6 separate regions of the Homo sapiens genome follow, and all the other regions are linked to region 6. The links are contacts of gene promoters, found by promoter capture Hi-C in blood cells and fetal thymus (Javierre and others, 2016). All regions are on one chromosome and are shown on one strand. The core of a region is centred on a gene start or on the middle of the fragment in contact, and the rest is flanking DNA. Distances in the headings are between cores, read along the strand shown. Region 1 holds the start of ACTR1B (actin related protein 1B). Region 2 holds the start of COX5B (cytochrome c oxidase subunit 5B). Region 3 overlaps REV1 (REV1 DNA directed polymerase). Region 4 overlaps TMEM131 (transmembrane protein 131). Region 5 has its middle 37 kb from the start of ZAP70. Region 6 holds the start of COA5 (cytochrome c oxidase assembly factor 5).

Evidence for each region. The method cuts DNA at HindIII sites, captures the fragments that hold promoters and counts their contacts. A CHiCAGO score of 5 or more calls a contact.
Region 1: a contact is called between the fragment with the promoter of ACTR1B here and the fragment with the promoter of COA5 in region 6, in 1 of 17 cell types (monocytes). The highest score is 9.4, in monocytes.
Region 2: a contact is called between the fragment with the promoter of COX5B here and the fragment with the promoter of COA5 in region 6, in 2 of 17 cell types (neutrophils and megakaryocytes). The highest score is 6.4, in neutrophils.
Region 3: a contact is called between a fragment that was not itself captured here and the fragment with the promoter of COA5 in region 6, in 1 of 17 cell types (activated CD4 T cells). The highest score is 6.2, in activated CD4 T cells.
Region 4: a contact is called between a fragment that was not itself captured here and the fragment with the promoter of COA5 in region 6, in 1 of 17 cell types (monocytes). The highest score is 5.6, in monocytes.
Region 5: a fragment that was not itself captured here is called in contact with the fragment with the promoter of COA5 in region 6 in 1 of 17 cell types (monocytes); the score reaches 7.8 in monocytes.

Annotation. Positions count from the first base shown.
Region 1 is chr2:97,662,578-97,666,542 of GRCh38, forward strand. ACTR1B (actin related protein 1B) reads right to left here and starts at 1,467. Exons shown (of 11, transcript NM_005735.4): 1 at 1,266-1,467. The coding sequence starts at 1,313. It overlaps LOC124900516 (U4 spliceosomal RNA), which reads right to left and starts at 2,154; the gene lies at 2,014-2,154. It also overlaps a transcript of C2orf92 not described here and the pseudogene RNU4-8P. RefSeq lists enhancers at 1-570, 536-605, 1,646-1,985 and silencers at 966-1,025, 1,106-1,565. The HindIII fragment of the contact is 7,381 bases long and covers 72-3,965 here.
Region 2 is chr2:97,644,219-97,647,785 of GRCh38, forward strand. It overlaps COX5B (cytochrome c oxidase subunit 5B), which reads left to right and starts at 1,844. Exons shown (of 4, transcript NM_001862.3): 1 at 1,844-1,971; 2 at 2,849-2,922; 3 at 3,126-3,225. The coding sequence starts at 1,869. RefSeq lists enhancers at 802-1,736, 1,539-1,588, 1,769-1,948. The HindIII fragment of the contact is 14,381 bases long and covers 1-3,567 here.
Region 3 is chr2:99,473,962-99,477,987 of GRCh38, forward strand. All of the region lies in intron 1 of REV1 (REV1 DNA directed polymerase), which reads right to left. Among named protein-coding and RNA genes, the nearest start is that of REV1, 14 kb to the right of the region's middle. RefSeq lists an enhancer at 1,636-2,299. The HindIII fragment of the contact is 9,790 bases long and covers 1-4,026 here.
Region 4 is chr2:97,768,134-97,771,859 of GRCh38, forward strand. The region is part of intron 33 of TMEM131 (transmembrane protein 131); the gene reads right to left. Among named protein-coding and RNA genes, the nearest start is that of ZAP70, 56 kb to the left of the region's middle. RefSeq lists enhancers at 1,981-2,494, 2,495-3,007. The HindIII fragment of the contact is 528 bases long and covers 1,865-2,392 here.
Region 5 is chr2:97,748,963-97,752,551 of GRCh38, forward strand. It overlaps a transcript of ZAP70 not described here. Among named protein-coding and RNA genes, the nearest start is that of ZAP70, 37 kb to the left of the region's middle. The HindIII fragment of the contact is 568 bases long and covers 1,850-2,417 here.
Region 6 is chr2:98,606,414-98,609,928 of GRCh38, forward strand. It overlaps COA5 (cytochrome c oxidase assembly factor 5), which reads right to left and starts at 2,099. Exons shown (of 3, transcript NM_001008215.3): 1 at 1,894-2,099. The coding sequence starts at 1,992. UNC50 (unc-50 inner nuclear membrane RNA binding protein) reads left to right here and starts at 2,176. Exons shown (of 6, transcript NM_014044.7): 1 at 2,176-2,313; 2 at 3,343-3,515. The coding sequence starts at 3,347. RefSeq lists an enhancer at 1,251-2,240 and a silencer at 2,304-2,403. The HindIII fragment of the contact is 2,113 bases long and covers 759-2,871 here.

The sequences.
Region 1 (3,965 bases), core at 217-2,716, 940 kb before region 6:
ACCTGGAAGCTGGACTTAAGGATCCCCCAAAGAACGGGGCAATTAGAAACCTCCCACCCAGCGAAGGGATAAGCTTCTCAACTCAGTCCCACCACTCTTCATCGCAACCCTCTGAGTCTGCAGCAGAAACAAACATCTCCAAGTTACAGAGGAGGGGATGGAATCCCCAAGGGGCCGAGCGGTAGCCCTTTTAACTTATAAGCCTGTTGATTAGCCTATACGAGTTATTTGCACGTCAAGAAAGGAAGTAGCCTGCTCCTTCCTGCAGCGTCCTGCTGGTGTGACAGCACGTCCCCAAGCTCAGTGCTAACCTCCTTATTAAACATCCCCTGCTGTGACTCAGGGAACCCACATGGGTACTCTAAAACAGTCATTCAGGGACCCCACGGGGTCATGTGGGAGGGAGACAGATCCCAGAAAGAGCACAAGTGAGTCATTACCAAAAACTCCAAGGCCCGCACACCGGACGCACATACCCAGCTAGGGGCAGACTCAAAGATCCCAGCCCTTATCTTCTCCCCATATCAGAGCTCGGAAGCCAGAAATCTTCCTAAGGCAGGTGAAAGCAAGCCGAGCCCCACTGCTGAAGGACAAAGCCACAGGAAGCCTGATGACATCTTTCCTCTGAGGCTTCCAAACGATCACCCCAAATTGCTTGCTGATACTGGGAAGAGTGGCCATGAACTCTCCATTGCTCTGCTGGCTGTGGAATGTTTGCTCAGCACAGGAAGCATTTAAGGAGAAAGTCAAAGTAGCCAAAAGGCAAACCAGATGGTGGTGGACATGTGGGTGACAGAGCATCCTGCATTTGTTGCCTCGGGGTGCAGCCCCAAAGATAAAGCCAGCAGTGTGCAAATGACAAATGCTACCCCACCTCCGCCAGGCAGCCAGAGCCAGGGCCGAAGGACGCGGAAAGGAACTGGTGTGGAAACCTGCCCAGGAACCGCACTCTCAACTGAGAAGAGTCCGGGGCGCGTCCCCGCCCGGCCGCCCGGCTGTCACTCAAGCTCTCCTGAACTTCCCCGCCCGACTCGGGGAGGGGTCGGGGAAGAGGCTCTGCGACGCGGGCGAGGGGGCTCGCCCCATGGCCGGCCTTACAAGGCCAAGAGGGCGCGCGCCCCCGGGGCGAAGCCAGCGGCCCGGCGGGGGCGACGGCCACGCAGTGAGCGGAGGACGCGCCGAGGCGGGCGGGGGTCTCTCCCTGCGCCGCCGCGTGCGCCCCCGGGGGCGGGGCGCCCGCCCTCCCCCTGGCTGCCGGGCCTCACGTTGTCGATGACCACAGGCTGGTTGGCGATGATGTCGTAGGACTCCATGGCCGGGCCGCGCCGGCCCTGCCCAGCAGGCGGGCTGCAGGAGGCACCGGATGGGCGGGCGGGCGGGAGGACCGGGACGGCGGCGGCTCCCGACGCGGCGCCGCTGCCCTCCCTCCCCGAGCCTGCAGCCTACGCGAGCCCCGCGGGGCTTTCTGGAGGGCGGGCCCGGCGGCCAATCATCGCTCCCACCTGGCCCGATTGACAGCAGGTGCCCGGGGCTGGCTGCGCGAAGGGGGCGGGGCCTCCGGAGGCTGGCCAGCCAATTGAGGTCGTCCGGAAAAAAGTGGTCGCGGCGTTGCCAAGGTAGGCTGCGCAGTGTCTGGGATGATGTCATGGCTCCGTCTTAAAGGGGACGCGGGCGGCAGAAAGTGGAGCTGGGCTGGTGTGCGCGCGGCCGGAGTCTGTGGAGCTGGAAATTCACCGGTCCAGGAAGACGTCTTTCCCGCGTCCCAGCACCGGTCCAGAAAGACGTCTTTCCCGCGTCCCAGCACCTCGGGCCACGCTCCTTCGTGAGAGCGCCCTCTCCAAGGAGGCCGGCCCTGGATATTTCACCCAAAATATTTATTTTTTCTTTTTTTCTAGGTAAGGTGTCTTGCTCTGTCGCTCAGGCTGGAAATCTTGGGCTCAAGCGATCCTCCCGCGCCAGCCAGTAGGGGGGACTACAGGCGCGCACCATATTTATTTATTTTTACTGAAATAGTCTCCGTAGAGACTGTTAAAAATTGCCGATGTCGACTATATTGCAAGTCGTCACGGTGGGGTATTGCGAAAAGTTTTCAATTAGCAATAATCGCGCTTCGGATAAACCTCATTGGCCACCATACGGCCACCGCGCAACGCTAGCTAATTAAAAAAAATTTTTTTTGTAGAGAAGGGATCTCGCTATGTTCCCCGGGCTAGCCTCGAACTCCTGAGCTTAAGCGATCCTCCCGCTTAGTCTTTCCAAAGCGTTGGGATTACAGGCGTCAGCTATTGCGCACGGCCCCATAATATTTCCTCGTTGAGCACTGAAGAAAAGATCCTTTTCCTTATAAAAATTACAGTTTCGTGGTATTTTGGTCCTGGCATTTATTGAGCACCTGCTCTGTGCCTGCGGAGCACTTCTGCCCACTTTACATAAGTTATATTAAATCCTTGCAACAATATCAGGTAGTTGTATTATTACTCCCATTTTTCAGTCAGGGTCTTCACACTTTGGTAACCTGCCCAAGATTATTGGGTGTGGAATTGGCATGCAGGTAGCCCCCTGCGGCACTGGAGTCAGCTGCTTCAAGAGTGCAGGATAGTTGAGTTCTACATTTGTTTACCAAACGGATCCATAGTTATTTCCCTGTATATATACCTCTCCCAATGGGTTGTGAGCATAAAATTTGTAAAATTGAAGCGGGTGTGCAGAAATCACAAGTGTACATGTACATTTCAATGAATGATTAAAATGTGGACACACTTGCATAACCACCGAGTTCAAGAAACAATATTGTTGCTGGAAAAGGGGTCCCGATCCAGACCCCAAGGGAGGGTTATTGGATCTTGCCCAGAAGAAATTCAAGGCAAGTTGCAGAGTGCAGTGAGAAGCGATTGTTTATTGAAAGCTACTCAGTTACAGAGTAGGCCATCCTCAGAAAGCAAGAGGGGGAACACACCCTCTTTATATTAAACTCTTCTTATAGAGGGGTCTTATCTATGTAAAAACTAAGCTATGTCTACATGAGGGTGGGCTGACAGCATAACAAAATTTAGTGCTTTTTGATTTAAAGAAAGTTATCCTTGGCATTTTAATGCATAAATACATCAAAGCATGACTCTCTCTCTCTCTCTCTCTCTCTCTCTCTCTCTCTCTCTCTCTCTATATATATATATATATATATATATATATATATATATTTTGTTTTGTTTTGTTTTTTTGAGACAGGGTCTCACCTTGTTGCCCAAGCTGGAGTGCAGTTGCCTGATATCAGCTCACTGCAACCTCCACCTCCCAGGCTCAAGCTATCCTCCTGCCTCAGCCTTCCAAGTAGCTGGGACCACAGGTGTGCACCATCACGCCCAGGTAATTTTTTTGTATTTTTAGTAGAGACCGGGTTTTGCTATGTTGCCCAGGCTGGTCTCGAACTCCTGAGCTCAAGCAGTCCACCCACTTTGGACTCCCAAAGTGCTGGGATTACAGGTGTGAGCCATCGAGTCCTGTAACTATAACTATCTTAAATCATATATTGTTAGGCAATATTGGAGCATCTGGACATTTTGTTGTTGTAGGATTTTGTCCTTGCAGGCATTACTAAACTGCTCTTTTAGCCATAGCATCTTATGACCATGGGTTGGGACTAGCAAGGAATGTGCCTTGCTAGTTTTAAGATGGAGTTGGGGCCGGGCGCGGTGGCTTATGCCTGTAATCCCAGCACTTTGGAAGGCCGAGGCGGGCAGATCACGAGGTCAGGAGATTGAGACCATCCTGGCTAACACGGTGAAACCCTGTCTTTACTAAAAATACAAAAAAGTAGCTGGGCGTGGTGGCATGCGTCTGTTGTCCCAGCTACTCAGGAGGCTGGGGTAGGAGAATCGCTTGAACCCAGGAGGCGGAGGTTGCAGTGAGCCGAGATCGCGCCACCAGCCTGGGCGACAGAGTGAGACTCCGTCTCAAAAAAAAAAAAA
Region 2 (3,567 bases), core at 594-3,093, 960 kb before region 6:
GGGCCTGCGAAAATTTCCTATTATTAGGCAAGCCTACTATGAGAGTGAGAAGCCTAAACTCAATTTCCATTTTATAGCCTGGAGTAAACCACTTCTGGTCAGGCAGCAGGGAATCATAACATATCAGAGCTGAATACCTCACTGGTTTGCTGAGGGGCAAGTTAGTAGGTGTTCCTCAGAAAGGATTTTGTGGTCAATTAAGACAGGGAAACTCTGGCTTAAACTGCAGGTAAATTAAATAAGAGGTCTTTACTGCAAGCCTAATCAGAGCCTTTATTATGCTAGTGTCCATCTCCAAAAGGGTGGTCATCAAATGCAGGCCCTCCCTGTCTTGACCAAGTCCTTTTTCTTGAGATCATGTCTTGAGACTTGGATGCCATGCAATACACTTTGGGAAATACTAACCTAGTTGAACGACAGTTTTACTGATGTAGAAATGGCGGCCCAAAGGATAAAAAGTAGCTGAACTAGCTGGTGGGGCTACTTTCCAGACCAATGCTTTTTTCTCCTGCCTAAGACCTTAACCACAGTTGCAAATTAACTACAGATCCTCAGAATTTTCGCCCAATTCAACTTGGAGGGGTTGCAGTGGAGGTGAGGGAGAAGGGAGTAACAGTGAAGCCATTCAAAGCAAAAACCACCTTTAAAGAAATTTTGGCCTTAGAATACAGGGTTTTTTTTTTTTTTTTTTTAATTGGTGGAGGGGGCACCCAGGAAGACCAGACGTGCTCCTGTGAAGCAACGCTCCACCACGTCCTTTTGAAAATACCGTAGCCTGCATGAGACAGGCGGGAGCACCTAAGCCTTCAACTCTCCCCATGTTGCCTCCAATTGACCTCACTGGGCCAGGAAAAGCCCTATAAACTGGTTTTGTATACTCTATCCAAGTAGTAAATTTACTAAAATTACTGGATCCTACTATATACCAGACCTCTGCAAGGCATTGAAGATTCAATGATGAGCATTAATTCCCACTCTAAGGGGATTTTTCTATCTGGTAGGGAAACTCAGATACCGCATGCAGCTAGCCTGTCACAGGGCTATACTGACTAAAGCTCACCCTAAGAAATTTGCACATCTTAGCCTATGGGCAACGGGAAGCCATGGACGGAATATGTTTTCCGTTTCAAACAAGGAACTCCAGTCACAGCAGGCTCTAACTCCATTTCCTATTATCAACTCCCCTTCCTGCTCCTCCTCCCTTAGTAGCCTCGAAAAAGAGTGGCCACTTCCTTCACATCACCAGGGCCTTGGTCCTGGTAGGGGGTCCCGCCCCCGGCCCTGTCCTCCTCCCCAGGCCGGGACCTCCGCGCCTCCCACACACAGTACAACTCTAACACGAAACTGGGCCAGGACTGCAGGTAGGTCCCGTCCAATGCGACACGCTCGCGACGGCCCACGCACTGCCAGAACCAGCCCTGCCACTAACCAGCCTAGTAAGGAACGCAGTGATCTTTAGGAGCCCACTTCTAAATTCAAATCATTTGGGGTTCAGTAAGTCTCTTCACAGACGGGGACCTAATAGCTTCCATTAGCAGCCTCCACGTTTGCTGAACACGACTACGGGGCCAGACCCACAGGAACTCCAATGTGGTTCAGCCGCTCAACTCCAGGGACCAAAAAGACTTTCCCACCTCCCAGCGTTATTAAAGGCAACCCCGCCCCCAAGCCTCAGCCACTACGCGGTGCAGAAAGAGGCAGAGCTGGGCATGCGCAATTTCCGCCCCCGCCACAGTCTTGGGAGTGGGCGGGCTCGAGGGCTGGGAGGAAGCCGAAAGCTGACCGAGAGGAGAAAGAAGCCCGCCCCCGGAAGTCCCTCCTGTCTCTGCAGCTTGTTCCCGGAAGTTTTGCTGCTAGTCGCGGACGCAATGGCTTCAAGGTTACTTCGCGGAGCTGGAACGCTGGCCGCGCAGGCCCTGAGGGCTCGCGGCCCCAGTGGCGCGGCCGCGATGCGCTCCATGGCATCTGGAGGTACTCGGGTCTCCGGGCGTGCCAGGGACCAGAGTGTTGCCCTCCCAGGGTGGTCCCAGGGCGGCAAAGCGGCGCGGCTCGTGCAGCTTCTCGAGGTCCCAGTGGCCGCTTTACGGTCCCCAGTGCCTCAGGCTCTGCAGGCATCTCCCTGTAATTCTGGACCGCTGCTCCTGCCGCTCCCCGAACTCACTCCGCTGCGAAAGTATCCTAAACGGAGGTGCCGGGTGACCTTGGGAGGGACCGGGGCTGCCACCGGGATGGGGAGGGGTCCGGCCTCCCTTCAAACCTGCGCCCACCTCAAGCAGAGTGGGTTCTACATGCTTTTAGACAAATGTCGACAAATTTGCCTCGGTGGTTGGAGAAAGAAAAGCTCATAGGCCGGGCGCGGTGGCTCACAACTGTAATCCCAGCACTTTGGGAGGCCGAGGCGGACAGATCCCCTGAGGTCAGGAGCTCAAGACCAGCCTGGCCAACATGGTAAAACCCCGTTTCTACTAAAAATACAAAAATTAGCCGGGCGTGGTGGCGCGCGCCTGTAGTCCCAGCTACTCGGGAGGCTGAGGCAGGAGAATCGCTTAAACCCGGGAGGCGGAGGTTCCCGTGAGCCAACATCGCGCCATTGCACTCCAGCCTGGGCAACAAGAGCAAAACTCCGTCTCAAAAAAGAAAAAAAAAGCTCCCCCGAGTGCTGCCGCTTGTGTGGATGGGTACTTGGTGGTTCTTAGGGGACCATGGATATGAGTAGCCTTTAGGAGCTTGTGAGCCCGCTAAAACTTATACAGAAGTTTCGGGGCACCATTTTCCTTGATCATTTCTGTTTGTAGTTTTTCTATCAGTCATTTCAGTCAGCGTCATAATTCACGTTATCTTCCTTTAGGTGGTGTTCCCACTGATGAAGAGCAGGCGACTGGGTTGGAGAGGGAGATCATGCTGGCTGCAAAGAAGGGACTGGTAAGGAGAAACTCCCTTCTGTGTCTTCTGTGTAACTTATGGCCTTGGATGTGTTCATAGTGGTCTCCTCTCTGGGAGTATTTGATACAGGAAACTTGGCTTGTAGGAACAGTCCCCTGAGCTTCTGGAAGGTAGGGCTTATTTGGCCTAATGGTTCAATTCTTGTTTTTTTTGTTTTGTTTTGTTTTTTGTTTTTTCTTCAGGACCCATACAATGTACTGGCCCCAAAGGGAGCTTCAGGCACCAGGGAAGACCCTAATTTAGTCCCCTCCATCTCCAACAAGAGAATAGTAGGCTGCATCTGTAAGTACCTCACCTCTATTTTTTATCCACTTGCTTAATATATCCTACAATAGTGTGTAAGCTGCCTCAAATCTTCAGTGTGTGAGTGCATGTTGGTAAGTTTGTCTAAGGGTCTTGACACTCTCAAGCCTCATTATGCCTGATAGTTCATCCTTACTGGAAAGAAGCGCAGCACAGCGGTAAGACTGGCTCACTGGGAGTGCGGCATGAAGGAGTACCCACCCAGCAAATATTTATTGTTATACTGCTTCTATGCCAGGCATCATTTTAGACACTAGGGATACATACCAGAACGGACCCTGCTTTGCGTTCTACATAGGCAAGGGAATTGTTAGAATTTAC
Region 3 (4,026 bases), core at 1,177-3,676, 870 kb after region 6:
ATAGTTTTTCTTGCTCTATTTATAAAAGCAATTCGTGTTTATTGCAGAAAATTGGAAAATACAGAAAACAGAAAAGGAAAGAATTACCCAAATTCCTACCACCTAAAAAAATTCACCTATTAACTGACACTTTATATTTCCTTCCTTTTAGTGTTCCTTTAATTTTTAACATTCAAATTTAATTTATTTACATTTCACATTACTAGTAATACCTTTCACTTCTGAAGTATCCTTAGTTTTCCAAGACCCCTTTACATCTACCATTTATCTTTACAACTCATCCATAGAGTGAGTCAGCCAAGTCCTATTTATTTTGCACACAATAGTTGACTTCTAGGGTAGAGAAGCTAAAAAGTTCTGTAAGGCTGCACTGCTGGCTTGTGGTACAAAATCATACTCATCTTCTACAAAATTATGTTCCCAAATCTTCAATGGAAAAAATAATAATGGTATCAATATGAACTGCTAAAAAGTTAAGAATACTCCTATTGATCTGAAGTAACCTAACACAATTCAACAAAACAGATGCTTCTTCACCAGGTAATCTAGCAACAGTCTGGATCATAATAGAGCCATATATGTAACAAAACTAAGGAAGAAAACAGGTCCTACAATTAAGCTCCATCTAGACCCCAACTAGTCCATATTGATAAGCAGAAGTCGGGAGCGATGGCTCACGCCTGTAATTCCAGCACTTTGGGAGGCTGAGGCAGGCGAATCACATGAGATCAGAAGTTTGAGACCAGCCTGACCAACATGGTGAAACCCTGTCTCTATTAAAAAGAAAAAAATCAGCCGAGCATGGTAGCAGGAACCTGTAATCCCAGCTACTTGGGGGACTGAGGCACGACAATCACTTGAACGCGGTAGGCAGAGGTTGCAATGAGCCGAGATTGTGCCACTACACTCCAGCCTGGGCAACAGAGTGAGACTCCGTTTCAAAAAAGAAAAAAAAAAAAGAAGTAGAGATTCAAAGACAGCATCAACTTTGTTGCTAACCGGTTCTCTGAACTTAAGCAAGTCATAATCAGTCATATTTTAGTTCCTCCGTATGTGGAAAGAGTTGGACCTGTTTGAAATGCTTGTTCCCCGGTGCCATAAAGAAACAGCACTTGAACATAAATTTAATTTATTTAGTAAGGCCATTTTTATTTCCTGCAGAAAAGGTACACTCGCCAGCAGTTTTGCCATGAGAGTACAAGGAACAAAGGAGACAGGGTCATTTATAACCTGATGCGTCCATCATACTGCTGTGTCTGGTTTCCATTGGCTGGAACGGGACCTCACATTCTGTATTTGTTCCGATTGGCTAGCAACTTAGAACTTTTTAAAAGAGGCAAAGGTGGAGGAGAACAAAGGAAGGAGGAAGTAACTTGTGGAATGCTGAGAAGGATAAAAACACTTTTAAATAAGGAAGAGAACAGGATATGACCTAATGCTTGCTTGGACCAGTATAAGCATGCCAGGGCAAATATTTAGGAGCACAGGTCTTTGAATAAATTTTGCTTCTAAGAGAAGTTACTATTTATTTCTAATCAGATGGGGAGGAAAGTCTTTGAAGAGGTACATCTACTTTTACTTTTTACAGACCTGACAAATTCTAGAGTCTTTTGCAATTTTTTAAATGTACATGATTCTGCGCTTGAACCCAGGAGGCAGAGATTGCAGTGAGCCGAGATTGAGCCACTGTACTACAGCTTGGGTGACAAAGCAACACTCTGTCTCAAAAAAAAAATAAATAGGCCAGGCACAGTGGCTCACGCCTGTACTCCCAGCACTTTGGGAGGCCGAGGTGGGTGGATAACAAGGTCAGGAGTTCAAGACCAGCCTGGTCAACATGGTAAAACCCCATCTCTACTAAAAAATACAAAAATTAGTCAGGCGTGGTGGTGGGAGCCTATAATCCCAGCTACTCCGGAGGCTGAGGCAGAGAACTGCTTGAACCTAAGAGGCGGAGGTTGCAGCAAGCTGAGATCATGCCACTGCACTCCAGCCTGGGTGACAGAGTGAGACTTCGTCTCAAAAAAATAAATAAATGAAAATAAACAAATGTGTATGATTCTACACATCTAGTTTTAAAAACGCTTTCAACAAACACATACATATTATGCAACTTTACGTAACTTTTTCTATGCTTGCCAAAAAACAACAAGATGTACCTATCCACAGATGTGGCTGTGCAGTAAGAATCCTAACCCAAACAGATGTTTGGCCTTTGCCCTTGGTTCCTGGGAGGTAATCCTTTCTTTTCCCCCCCTTCACATGGTCCAAGATGAGACTGGGAGGTAACCTCTAAGCCCTTAGAACGTCCACCTTATGGGAGCAGTGACTCACGCCTGTAATCCCAACACTTTAGGAGGCTGAGGCGGGCAGATCACAAGGTTAGGAGTTCGAGACCAGCCTGGCCAACATGGTGAAACCCCATCTCTATTAAAAATACAAAAATTAGCCGGGCATGGTGGCACACGCCGGTAATCCCAGCTACTCAGGAAGCTGAGGCAGGAGAATTGCTTGAACCCGGGAGGCGGAGGTTGCAGTGAGCCCAGATTGCGCCATTGCACTCCAGGCTGGGTGACAGAGCAAGAATCTGTCAATAATAATAATAATAATAATAATAATGTCCACCCTGTTAAGTGCTTTTGTTTACCTGGGGGCTTTGAGCCACTCCAGATAGTTTTGCACTGTGATTTAAGGTGAAGGGCTTTGAGCCATGTATTATCAACCTCCTGAAGGGCTGAAAACTAAAGGTCAACCATGCCAACAGTCAATCATATCTAAGTGACCAAGTCCCAGTACAAATGCTGGACACCAAGGCTTGGGTGAGCTTCCCTGATAGGCAATCTCCATGAGTAGTGTCACACATCAGTGCCAGAAGTTGGCACCGTCCATAACTTCGCTGGCAGAGGATAACTGGAAGTTTCGTAAGTGGACTCTTCTGTGTGCCCCATGCACCTCTTCCCTTGGCTGATTTTATTCTGTATCTTTTCACTGTAATAAATCCAACCATAAGTAAAAGCCCTTTCAGGAGTTCTTTGAACCCTTCTAGCCAATTATTTAACCTAAGGATGGTGTGGATCCCCAAACTTGCAGTTGATCTCATAAGTGAGGGTGGTCTTGGGACCCCAACTCCACGATGGCAAAACGGCACTGTCCTCCAGTATTCATTCTTCTTTCTTACTTTTAGTAATGGAACACCTCTCCCGCCCCTCTTAGCAGGAGGCAGAGTGGGCAACCAGAGACTACATTTCCCACGCTCCTCTCAAAATCGGGGGTGGCCATGTGACTAAGTTCTGGCCAAGGAGGTATGAGCAGAGTGATGTGTACAAAAATATGAACCATATTCCTAAAGAAAGCTGTTTACTTCTTTTTCTGGGATGCAGTTGTGAGGTAACCCAGCTTCAACCATGGGAATAAGGACAATACCCTATGGAAGGGCTAAGCACACAGAGAACTGTGGAACCCCTAAAACACTGAGGTGCTCACCTACTACGGACTGCCTATCTACCTCTGGACTATTACAGGAGAAAGAAAAACTTAAAAATTGTTTGTTCCATTGTATTCTGAAGTCCCTGTTACAGCAGCTTAGCCTGTACCCTAATGCATAAGTACATCTGAGCATTTTAATATGATTTTGATTCAATATCTATATAAATTAAAAATAGACAAACAATAAGATGTACTGTATAAAAAATATTTGGATATATTAAACCTGAAAATGTATAACAAACATTTGTATGTCCCAGTTTGAGGCTGATCTGATTAAAAGGAAAGCGTCTATCCCAAACAATTCAATACAACAAAGAGTTTTCTCTTATTCTTCTTGTTATTCATAACTACCAAAAAAAGATGCTTGATTTAACAAAATCAATAGTTAATACAAACTGAAGGGGGCTTCCTGAAACAACGACTAATGCTTTTCTTCCCTTCAATTACAGATTTCCATAGAAAGGGAAAGAAGTAGAGACACTGTTTTAATAAAGTACCTAGGAGGCTAGGCACAGTGGCTCACACCTGTAATCCCAAGAC
Region 4 (3,726 bases), core at 879-3,378, 840 kb before region 6:
TTAGTAAGAGAGCAAACCAAAAAGCCAAAGGGTTTCCGTTAGCCCAAATAACTAGAATTTTAGGTAGGATAACAAACTGAAGTGAAAAATCCACTGTTTATGGGCCAGATGATGAATGCTACATTATAAAATCTTTTGTATCTCTTCTACTTCTGACTGACAGGGTTATTTAAAAAACCCATCTTCTAAAAAAACCCCAAAGGCTCCCATAGTAGACACCAGCCCTCTGGTGGTGGAGGTGGTGTGGGTGTGATCTATTTTTAAGTGTGCGTGGGTAGCTATTTATACAAAACTAAATTCTGTGCCACTGTAAAAGTAATTGGTTTTTAAGAAGAAAGGTGCCAGACAACTCCTGTTATTTTTGCTGATTCATACTTTCCTAAATTAAGCCAGATGATCTCTATCAAGAATCCTTTTTTAAGGCTTCTGAATAAAATGGGTAACGGCCAACTTAATTGAAGCGATTCATTTTTTTGAGACAGAGTCTCACTCTGTCACCCAGGCTGGAGTGCAGTGGCACGATCTTGGCTCACTGTAACCTCTGCCTCCCAGGCTCAAGCAATTCTCCTGCCTCAGCCTCCTGAGTAGCTGGGATTACAGGTGTGTGCCACCATGCTTGGTTAATTTTTGTATTTTTAACAGAGATGGGGTTTCACGATGTTGGTGAGGCTGGTCTCGAAGTCCTGACCTCCGGTGATCTGCCGTCCTTGGCCTCCCAAAGTGCTGGGATTACAGTGGGATTACAGGTGTGAGCCACCGTGCCCAGACTGAAGTGATTCTTTTTAAAAAGGAAAAACAGGTGGTTCAGATGCCAGGCTTTATTTATTTATTTACTGACAGGGTCTCAGTCTGTTGCTCAGGCTAGAGTGCAGTGGTGCAATCACGGCTCTCTGCAGTCTCTAACTCCTGGGCTCAACTCCTGAGTCTCTAACTCCTGGGCTCTATGCAGTCTCTAACTCCTGCCTCAGCCTCCCTAGTAGTTGGGACTACAGGTGTGTGCCATCACACCTGGCTAATTTAAAAGAAAAACTTTTTGTAAGATAAGGTCTTGCTATATTTTCCAGGCTGATCTTGAACTCCTGGGCTCAAGCAATCCTCCTGCCTTGACCTCCCAAAGTGCTGGGATTATAGATGTGAGCTACCACACCTGGCTTATTTTTATAATATATTTTCCTCCATTTTTTAATAATAATGTTTTTCTTTTTCTTAATATTCTGAGATTTCGTATTCTTTTTATTTTTGCTTTTCACAACGTTACACCTGACTCAAGCCTGGCCTATTTTTATTCCTGTAATACACAGTACACATTTCTGTCTGGGGAGGAGAGAGGCAGAGCTGAGGACACAGCTAGGGACATGACCAGCTGTGGAGCAGGGTTTTCTGAGTGCTGACAGGTCTGGGGCTGGCGTGTGCAGTGTGGTGTTCACAGCCCTTGGGCCTGAGTTGAGAGTGTTATTTAAGCAGATTTTTACAGATAATATGATTAATCTACTTCTTTTGCTTATTTTAGATTATTACATTTATGTAAACATATACTGTTGATAAACAAATAGAAAAACAAAAGGATCAGTGAATACTCAGGGTCCTAAACCAGGGATGCCCTGGGCCCTTCCTGGTTCTGCAGAAACCTTCAGTGCCTGAGATCTGATTCCCATTCCTTGGCATCTCTGCCATAGACTACAGTTTTCCGGAGGTCTGCAGGCCCATTTCTATGTTGCCACAGCTGGAAAACACGGTTAGATCAGATTTCTGTTGCTGCAGCCCCACCCTCCTATTTCCTAGCAAGTGATTTTTTTGAGGTCAACTCTTGGGAGTGTGGATGGATGGGGCTGAGCCACTCCTCTGGCTTTATCACCTCTCACAAAGCTTCCGAAAGACAGCAATGATATATGCCTTATTAATGACATATCTTATTAAAAGATGTGTACCTGTCCTTCAGACATGTGGGGTTATATATTAACACACTAAAAGGTGACAGGAATTTCAGGAATCACTAAAGCTAGTACTGGCTGTGATTCTGAGTGACAGTGTTTGACATTTATTATCAGAATGCAGTGGAGTCACAGAATGGCTCTGTTCAGAAAGCCAACCTTCTCCGGTTATTAAAAAAACCAGTCTTTATTTGATTAAATGATTGATGAACTAATAAATTCTGACTCAATACTTTCATCCTCGAGTTCAGAAAAACAAGAGATCAGTGAGTTTAAAGAGATCAGATAAAGGAGGATAGAAGAAAGGTTGCATATAGATTTCTCCAGTTACAAAAGACAGTTTCAAGCACACGGCTTGATTTGTGTTCTGGTAATGATTTATCTTTTAACTACATATTGAGAGAGCACCGGTTATTGCTATAACTGCCCCTTGACTAGGCGGTTCAGGACTGACCACTCTAAGCTTTTTGGTTTACAAGAGAACTAAAAACCCTTGCAAAGGTAATGACACTCAAGCGACGTCTTTGACTAACTTTTCAAATGCAAATTTGCTGATGGTCAACTTGTAAAAAAAATCAGAATACAATGTAAGTCAGTGGAACAGGGATGGGGGTTAGGATTAGTGTGTTCTATCTGCTTAACAATACTAAGCTCAGGCCTGAGGGCTAATCAACAGGGCCAATTTGGTGACAGTCACCTATGGAATGGTACCTCTAAGATAATTCTTAGATGCACTGGTTTTAAAATTTATCATCATAGGAATTACTGCATGTCTGTCTACCTCACAAGATTTCTGCAAATGTAAAAATGAGGATTTTCATTATTTGGACTTATTAGCCTCATTTACTTTAAAATATCTGATCACTCACCTAAGCCTGAAAAAGGCCAAGAAGAAGAATCTCTAGCTAGTAGCCCAGTGTTATTCCTGTCCTGGGTGCCAGGATATTGGTGTCTCAGGTGGATTTCTCTCAGGAGAGATCCAAGTATGTGAACCTCCTCTTCAGAAGAGGTGGTCTCCTTTTCTCTCTCCCCTTCAAATGATCAACCACCTGATACCACTCTGCTTGACGTTCCTTCTACCTGGGCCAGACTGCTCTCAACAAATTGTGGGACCTGGTCACTTGAACTAACAATTGCCACAAAAGAGTAAATTTTAGGTACAAATACTTCATTACTAAGCACCACCATATACTGTATTATTTCATAAATTCAGGGACAAGGTTAAATTTTACTGCAGTTATCACTAATTTCTTACTAGCTTTTGGGTTCTATAGAACAGGACTGGCCCTGCCTGAAGCCATATAATCTAGGGACAGAGTCTAGGTTAGTGGTGTTTTTGCAAAACTCAAGTATGATTCCCAGGATCAGAGTAAGAATAGACCTTCCACAAATCTATGGCCCACACTTATGATGACAGACAAGCCATGTCTTCCTTTTAAATTTACACCTAATTTATTCGACTTCCTCTGTCACTTTCTACTGATCACAACCCACAAGCGGGTAGACAGCAGCTCCCGTGCTGATGACAGTTCTATACAATGAACCAGGAAAGGTATTACTGATGCACCAACACTAAAATTATCAGGTAGATGCTGAGCCAAGGTTTAATGAAAATGTGAAGTAACTTCAGTTAATAACCCAACAGTTCAACTCACTCATCTCCCTGGGGAAACAGCCTGCACAAGCCCTCCCCGGGGGCCACTGAATCCCATTCCATGGGGAGGAACTGGAGTTATTTAATGGTAGAACCGTCTGACTGGTGACACCTGCTCTGAACCATTTTTAAGGTAAGAAT
Region 5 (3,589 bases), core at 884-3,383, 860 kb before region 6:
TTTGTAGAGGGAGTATTGCTTACAGTGGATGTGACACTTCCCTTTTTTTTTTTTTTTTTTTTTTTGAGACGGAGTCTCGCTCTGTCGCCCAGGCTGGAGTGCAGTGGCGCAATCTCGGCTCACTGCAAGCTCCGCCTCCCGGGTTCACGACATTCTCCTGCCTCAGCCTCCCGAGTAGCTGAGACTACAGGCGCCCGCCACCAAGCCCGGCTAATTTTTTGTATTTTTAGTAGAGACGGGGTTTCACCGTGTTAGCCAGGATGGTCTCGATCTCCTGACCTCGGGATCCGCCTGCCTCGGCCTCCCAAAGTGCTAGGATTGCAGGCATGAGGCACCGCGCCCGGCTGACACTTCCTATTTTTACAAAAGGCACAGACTAATAGCACGCATAGTGCGCTGTCTGTGTGGGAAAGGAGGGAGATGGGAGTGCTTTTCCCAAAAGGACGTTTATAGAGCAGGGACAAGGGAATGATGGCAATAGGTCTTTCTAGGCAGCAGCAAGCCCTGCTGGCTTTGGAGTTCCGGGTGGGCAATGACTGTCAGGGGTCAGGTCTGTGAGAGTTGCTAGGAGCATGCATTCTGCAGAAGCGGGAGGGGACTGACGGCAAAGGAATTAAGTTACAGAAGGATCCTGAATGCATGAAAATTTGCAGCCCCACATTGCCTTAACTGGAAAAGGAGGTGGTGCTTTGTGGGCATAGGAATCTGATGCAGCCTCCTCTCCCTGCTGCAAAATATCTGGCTGGGAGGAATGGTCCAAATCCAGTCCCTCTAAGAACCTTGTCCCTGGACATGCTGCCGCAGTTCTGCTGAGAGGCGGGGCTGAGGCAAACGGGAGCCCAGGCTGGCGGTGGACCCAGTGGTGAGGGTGGGAGGGATGAGGGCGTGGGAGGAGGGGCCCCAGGCAGTGGCAAGGAGCTCAGGAGGCTCCAGATTGGTGGCCTCATGCCCCCTGCCAAATGAGTTCCATCCCCATCAGGAAGTTGCCATTTCTAGGGGTTTAACACTGGGAAATGTCTTTGGAATACCACAGTAACAGACAATAGGAAGTGCTACCACTTATTTATTTGGCCTCATGTTTCACACCATCCTCCTGAGGATGTTTGTTTTGCATATAGGGAAACTGAGGCTCTGAGAGGGGCAGAGTGTGCCCAAGGGCCATGATCAGTAAATGGCAGAGCCAGGACTGGAACCCAGGCCACACTCATCCATGCCACTGCACTCATGTGTACACCCAAATGGTCAACGCCCTTCCCCGCAGTGCAGCAGCAACGCACCGCAGTTAAAGCAGCTGGGCTTGTTGCTCCCTGCAGCAAGGGGGACCCAAACAACAGTGAGCTGGGGTGTCTCCTAAGAGGGTGTCAGGAAGTAGCAATTGTAGGATGTGGGCCTTGGTTATTAGCTTATTTGGGGGGTGGGTCTATGGAGTCAGGGGTTTGCTCTGGAGTGGAGGCTGGCTCAAGAGTGTCTAATGAACGCAGTCTATAGTTACACCAGAGTTAACAGTTTTTTCCTGTCTGTTGTAAAGCGAGTTGTTGAATCGCATGATGAAAGAAATGGTGTGCAGTACCATCTAAAACTCTAGACAGGAGATACTAGCCAACCATTTACAGGTAATTACGAGAAACGCAAGGACTGTTAGTCCTCGTAACAGGTCTGCAAGACAAGGGCCTAGAGCGCCTCCAGGTAATGGGCGCATGTTCCAGAAGCCAGCTGGGTTGGCTTTAGAGGTCAAGGCTTTTTCTAATAGTCACAAACTGTCCTGTTCCCCTGTGGTGTTTTTCTAGGTATAAAAAAGGAGTATTTGTTATGGCATGACCTGTCCCTTTGCTGGCTAAGAGGAAAATAAAGCTTATATGACTGTCCTTGATAACTCTAAAGAATGGACTTAGATTAGTCGGTTGGACTTTCAGAGCAGAGTGGTCTCGTTTATGGCTTCAGCTAAAATTACCAACTAGTTTTGAACTCTCTCTCTAGTCGTTTTATTCCTTTGGTGGGAACTGGAGTTTGCAGAGTATGCATGAAGAGCAAATCAAGGATCGCTACTGGAAGGTTTTGGAATCATCTATGATAATTTTACGCTGGATTGCTGGGTATTCTTTCAAAGAATGGATTACTGGAGACGTGGGTGTTGTAAATATCTGAACATATCTAACCACTCTGAATATACATGAGTGTGTGGCAGACCAATATAAGCCTGACATGGGCTAATAAGATGTAGTGTCCCACTGAAGCACAGATCGTATGGGGAGCATATTATTATAATAGCAATAAATTTCGTGTCTTTGTGTGCCTTTTGTACAGAAGCTGTAGATCACGTAGAGGCGGGTGTGTTTTGGATATACTGTATAGTTCATATTTATGTTGAGATAAAGCTGGAAATAAAATGTAATCATGTAGAATCTAAGATGGGATGAAGCTTCAAACTGTATACAGTGGCATGTTATGAATTCATAAGAAGCAACATGGGACCTAGAGGTGGTTGATCGTATAATGCTAATGGTAATTTCTTAAGATGTAGAATTTTGGAGGTTTCTGAGAGGTATGCTATTTTTAAAAAAATTCCATTAGTTCTGTTTTTCTAGAGGACTGGAGAAAACAAGGACAGTGAAATCTCTGGATTAAAGGCACAACTTCAGTGTTTCTTAATAACAGTATGTCTTAGTCCCTTTGTGTTGCTGTAAAGGAACACCTGAGGCTGAGTAATGTGTGAAGAGGTTTATTTGGCTCAGGGTTCTGCAGGCTGTAGAGGCAGCAGCATTGGCTTCTGCTGAGGGCCTTGGGCTGGGTGCACTCCTGGTGGAGGTGAAGGAGAGCCCCGTGCAGACCACACGGTGAGAAAGGGAGGAAGAGGGAGGTGGGGGAAGGTGCCAAGCTCTTTTCAACAACTAGTTCTTGTGGGCACTAAGGGTGAGCACTTAGTCCCATGAGAATGGCACCAAGCCATTCACGAGGGCTCCATCCCCTCCACCAAGCCCCACCTTCCACACTGGGGATCATATTTCAACAAGAGACTCAGCAGGGCCAAACAAACCACAGCATTGGTCTGGAAAAAGGAGTATCTCTGTCATTAGAAGTAAGTGGGGATTTTCCAGGTTGGAAAACAAAATCAAGCACTTTTTGTCACTCTGGCAGGGAAATTTTCAATCCACAGTGAATATAAACAAACAATAACCAGAATGTATTTATAATCCACGGCAGAAGGCATTTGTATGGAGTCTACTTGGAGGGGTCTGAAGGGCCTTCAAGCTCTCCAGTTCCTGCTCACGTCTACATTTAAATGTTTTATCAGGATTTCATTCACAGGGGGATGTTTTGTAACCATTATTGGCAATACCTCTAAAATTACCTGGCTTAATTAATATTGTTGCCAATTTATTTTTACAGCTATCTAATTATGGGTAACATCATGAAGAATTTTTGTTAGATTCCACTATCACCTTTTTTCATGACATCAGCTGGCCCTCCTAAGATGTAAAAGGCATCAGAACTTTCCCCATTTTCTTTTTTCAAACCAGGGGCTTGTTCTGACACTAATAGCAGCCTCTGAATTTCTCAAGACCGGTGAGATCACAGGAGTGTTTCTATA
Region 6 (3,515 bases), core at 849-3,348:
CTTATAAGCATCACGTTTTCTGGCTGACCAAACTGAGCACTGGTAAGGCCACATATTCAATGGCGGGAAAAGCAAAGTCTGTACCAGCTGTCCCAACCATAATCTCTGCCTACAGCATTCTAGCCAAACAGCTCCGCTTTCTATACTGGAGAGACCATGTTCCATTCATCAGTATTTGTTCCCTGAACTGGAGCCTGGCGCTCCGTACATGTTTGCTGTATCAACCGCTGCAGAAAGCCAGCTTGGAATTCTCTGTGCTGCTGCTATTGTCCTCCACTTGGAGTTTCTTTCCTCAGTCCTACTCAGTGTACTTTCTTCCCTTGACTACTCATCAACATGGCCTTCCGATGCTGAACGTCTGGATAAAATCCAGTCTCCTCACTCTGACACACATACAGGCCTTCACACCTGGCTGCAACCTTCCCCTCAGGCCTTCTGTCGCATTCCCCTATGGCAGGACACTAGCTCCTCTGCGCCCTCCCACATCTCCCTGCCTCTGCACTTGCTGTTCTTTCAGATTTTCCCCACAACCACAACAGTTCCCACTCCTTTACTTGATAAACTACTACTCAACTTTTAAGACTCAGCTCAAATGTCATCTCAGAAGATTCCAAATTCTGAAGCAAAATCAGACGCTCTCCCTTGGGCTAACGCATTTTTCTCCTCAAGATCTAGTCATTAAACACATGTTTAATAAATGCTTACAGTCTTATGGCAGGAATTTAGACCCTTAGATGTCTATTTCTCCCATGACACCAAGCTTACATGGGTAGTGACTGTTACTGATTCATCTTCGTTATCACCAGTGTCAGGTACCATGCCTGCCACTTAAGAGGCATTTACCAGGAGCTGGCTGAACGGCAGCACCAGTGAGTAAGGGGCAGAAGGGACACAGCCCTGGACAGGGGAGCCTGAAAACAACGGTACTTCAGTTTCCTCATTTATATAAGGAAGTTGGGCGAGATAATCTCTTAAATTTATAATAACTCAAGTTTTACTAGACATTGGGAGGCGAGAATGGCTGACTGCTAAAATCAGTGAACCAAACAAATTGTGACTCGGTAGAAACACTGGTACAGTCTTACAGTGGATGTCCATTTGGGGGTAATCTTTTCTCTGAAATAACAGCAACTTTCTGAAACTACATCCCCCAATGCAAAGACAATTGCACACAATTGAATGCCCTCTCGTCGGGCCTCTGCAATTGGAAAAGGCACTTGTGCTTTACTTGAGCTCTAATCCAGAACTCAGGTCCACTGTGAACCTCACTACATGTTTCAGTGCATTCCAAGAGGGTGCTGAGGAGACCTGTGTCTGTAGCCGGGGAGTGAAGGAAGAGTGTAGGGGAAGCAAGATACGAAATCGTGAAAATATGGAGTTGCCTTATTTTTACAACTTAACATCCAAGAATGCAGAGAACTGTAACTCAGAAACAAATTCACATCAACACAAGTCAAACTGAGCACACATTGTCACAACTGAACAGGCAGGAGACACTACTGGCCAGGGCAGTGTACCAGGTTTACGCAACTCTCTGGAATCATTAATTCTACAGATTATCATTTCTAGGCAGGCAAGAAACCTGGCTTATTCTCCTTTATGTCTCCAAAGCCTAGTAGAGTGCTAGCATTCAATAAAGGCTTCGTGAACTGAAATGGGTTAACCTTTACAAAAACCCGACAGGGTGCGTTTATCGTTATCTCCGATTTAACCCCACAGGGAACTGGGGCTCCGACAGCTCAGTGGATCTGCGCACGTTCAGTGAGCCCGAGCTGTGACCTACGCCCGGGATGGTTAACTCCAACCGCCGCCGCGGGCGACCCGCTGCCCTCCGCCGAGCCAGGCCTGCCTGGGACAGGGGTCGTCACCACCGGGAGCGCCCGGCCGCGCTACCTGGACCACACAGTCCGACTGCAGCAGACACGCGCCCAGGTCCTCCTTCAGGCCCGCGCACGCGCCGCCCTGCGGCTTGTCCTCATAATACTTAGGCATGACGGCGCTTCCCCTCCGATGCGGACGCGACTTTCTCCCACCGCAACACTTGCAACCGGGTCGGGAGCGAGCGAGGCCCCAGTCTCAGGGGACCGGAAGCCAGCGGCAACAACTTCCGGCGGGCCGCGGCGGTAGGGCCGAGGACTACGGGGGCCGAGAGGTGGCGCGTCCGCGGCGGAAGTCGGTTCCCGTGACGCGGCGCGCCCCAAGGGCCGGCTCCGTTGAGGGAAGGGAAGCCCGCCCGGTGGCGGCTGGGGTCGGCTGCTGGGAGGAGGTGGTGGGCTGGTTCGGACGTGGGTCGAGGCTGTAGCAGGACTCCAGGTGAGGCCTGAGGACCACTCTGCCCTCCCGCGGCCCGGGCTCGCGCCGGGGGCCATTTAATCCCGACAGCTTGCGGCCTGACGTCGCTGCGGCCTGGCAGTGACCATGTCGGCGTCCGGCCCCTCGGCCGGCGATAGAGTTGCGGCTAAAATGAAAGGACGCCCAGTTACATTTGCATCGTAGATAAAGAAAGAGCATTTAGTATAAGCATGTCCGAAATGTTGCGTGGGATGTAGGCATACTAAAACCTTATTCGTGGCCTGTCTGAAATCCAAATGGAGCTGGGTATTCTGTGTTTTTATTTGCTAAATCTGGCAGCCGTACCCGCGGCCCCGGGCAGGGAGGGAGCAGCTGGGCTCGGCCAGACCCTGCCGGCGTCTGGGGGGCCTGCGAAGTGGAGGGGAGACGGGCAGCCGGGCAGTGGCCGGCGTTCCCCGGAGCTCGGACCGGTTGGATTGGACTCCGACGCTACCGCTCCCTCTGCTGAACTATTCCGGATGTAAAACACTAGGGATCGGAGTTTTTCTTGGTTTTTTAATCTCATTCTAGTGACCGAGAAGCTTGCTGGCAGTGCGCTGATGGATCTGTGTGAATAGGCCATTTATTTGACCTCTTCAGTAACACTGTTCTAACCGGCTGAAACTGCTTTCTTAGGCATTTTCTTAAAAGCTTGGTGGTTAAGAGCACGGAATTTCGAGTCAGATTTCCAATCTTGGCTCTATCACTATCCTCGGAGTCATGGGGCAGTCACATCATCCCTGTCTCTGTAATGGTAGCTGCCCCTGGATAAGTGTTATTAGGTGATTCAGAAGGGTGGGCTGTTGCCCTTGCCTGAGGTTGCAGTCTGCGGTTCCCAAGCCCCAAGACCCGCCTCAGAACTAACTGCATTTGCTTTTGACTCCTGGCCTTTCTCTAGGGTTGGGAAGAACATGGAAAGTGACCTCCCTGCCAAATAACTCAGAAGAGGAGTGTCGGTAGCCAAATGTTTCTTCAGAATACGTGTAAAAGAAATGTTTTTCTTCCATCTAGGAAGATGTTACCGAGTACTTCAGTGAATTCCTTAGTGCAGGGGAACGGAGTCTTGAATTCCAGGGATGCGGCAAGACACACAGCCGGAGCGAAACGCTACAAATATCTGAGAAGGCTTTTCCGCTTTCGGCAAATGGACTTTGAATTTGCTGCCTGGCAGATGCTCTACCTGT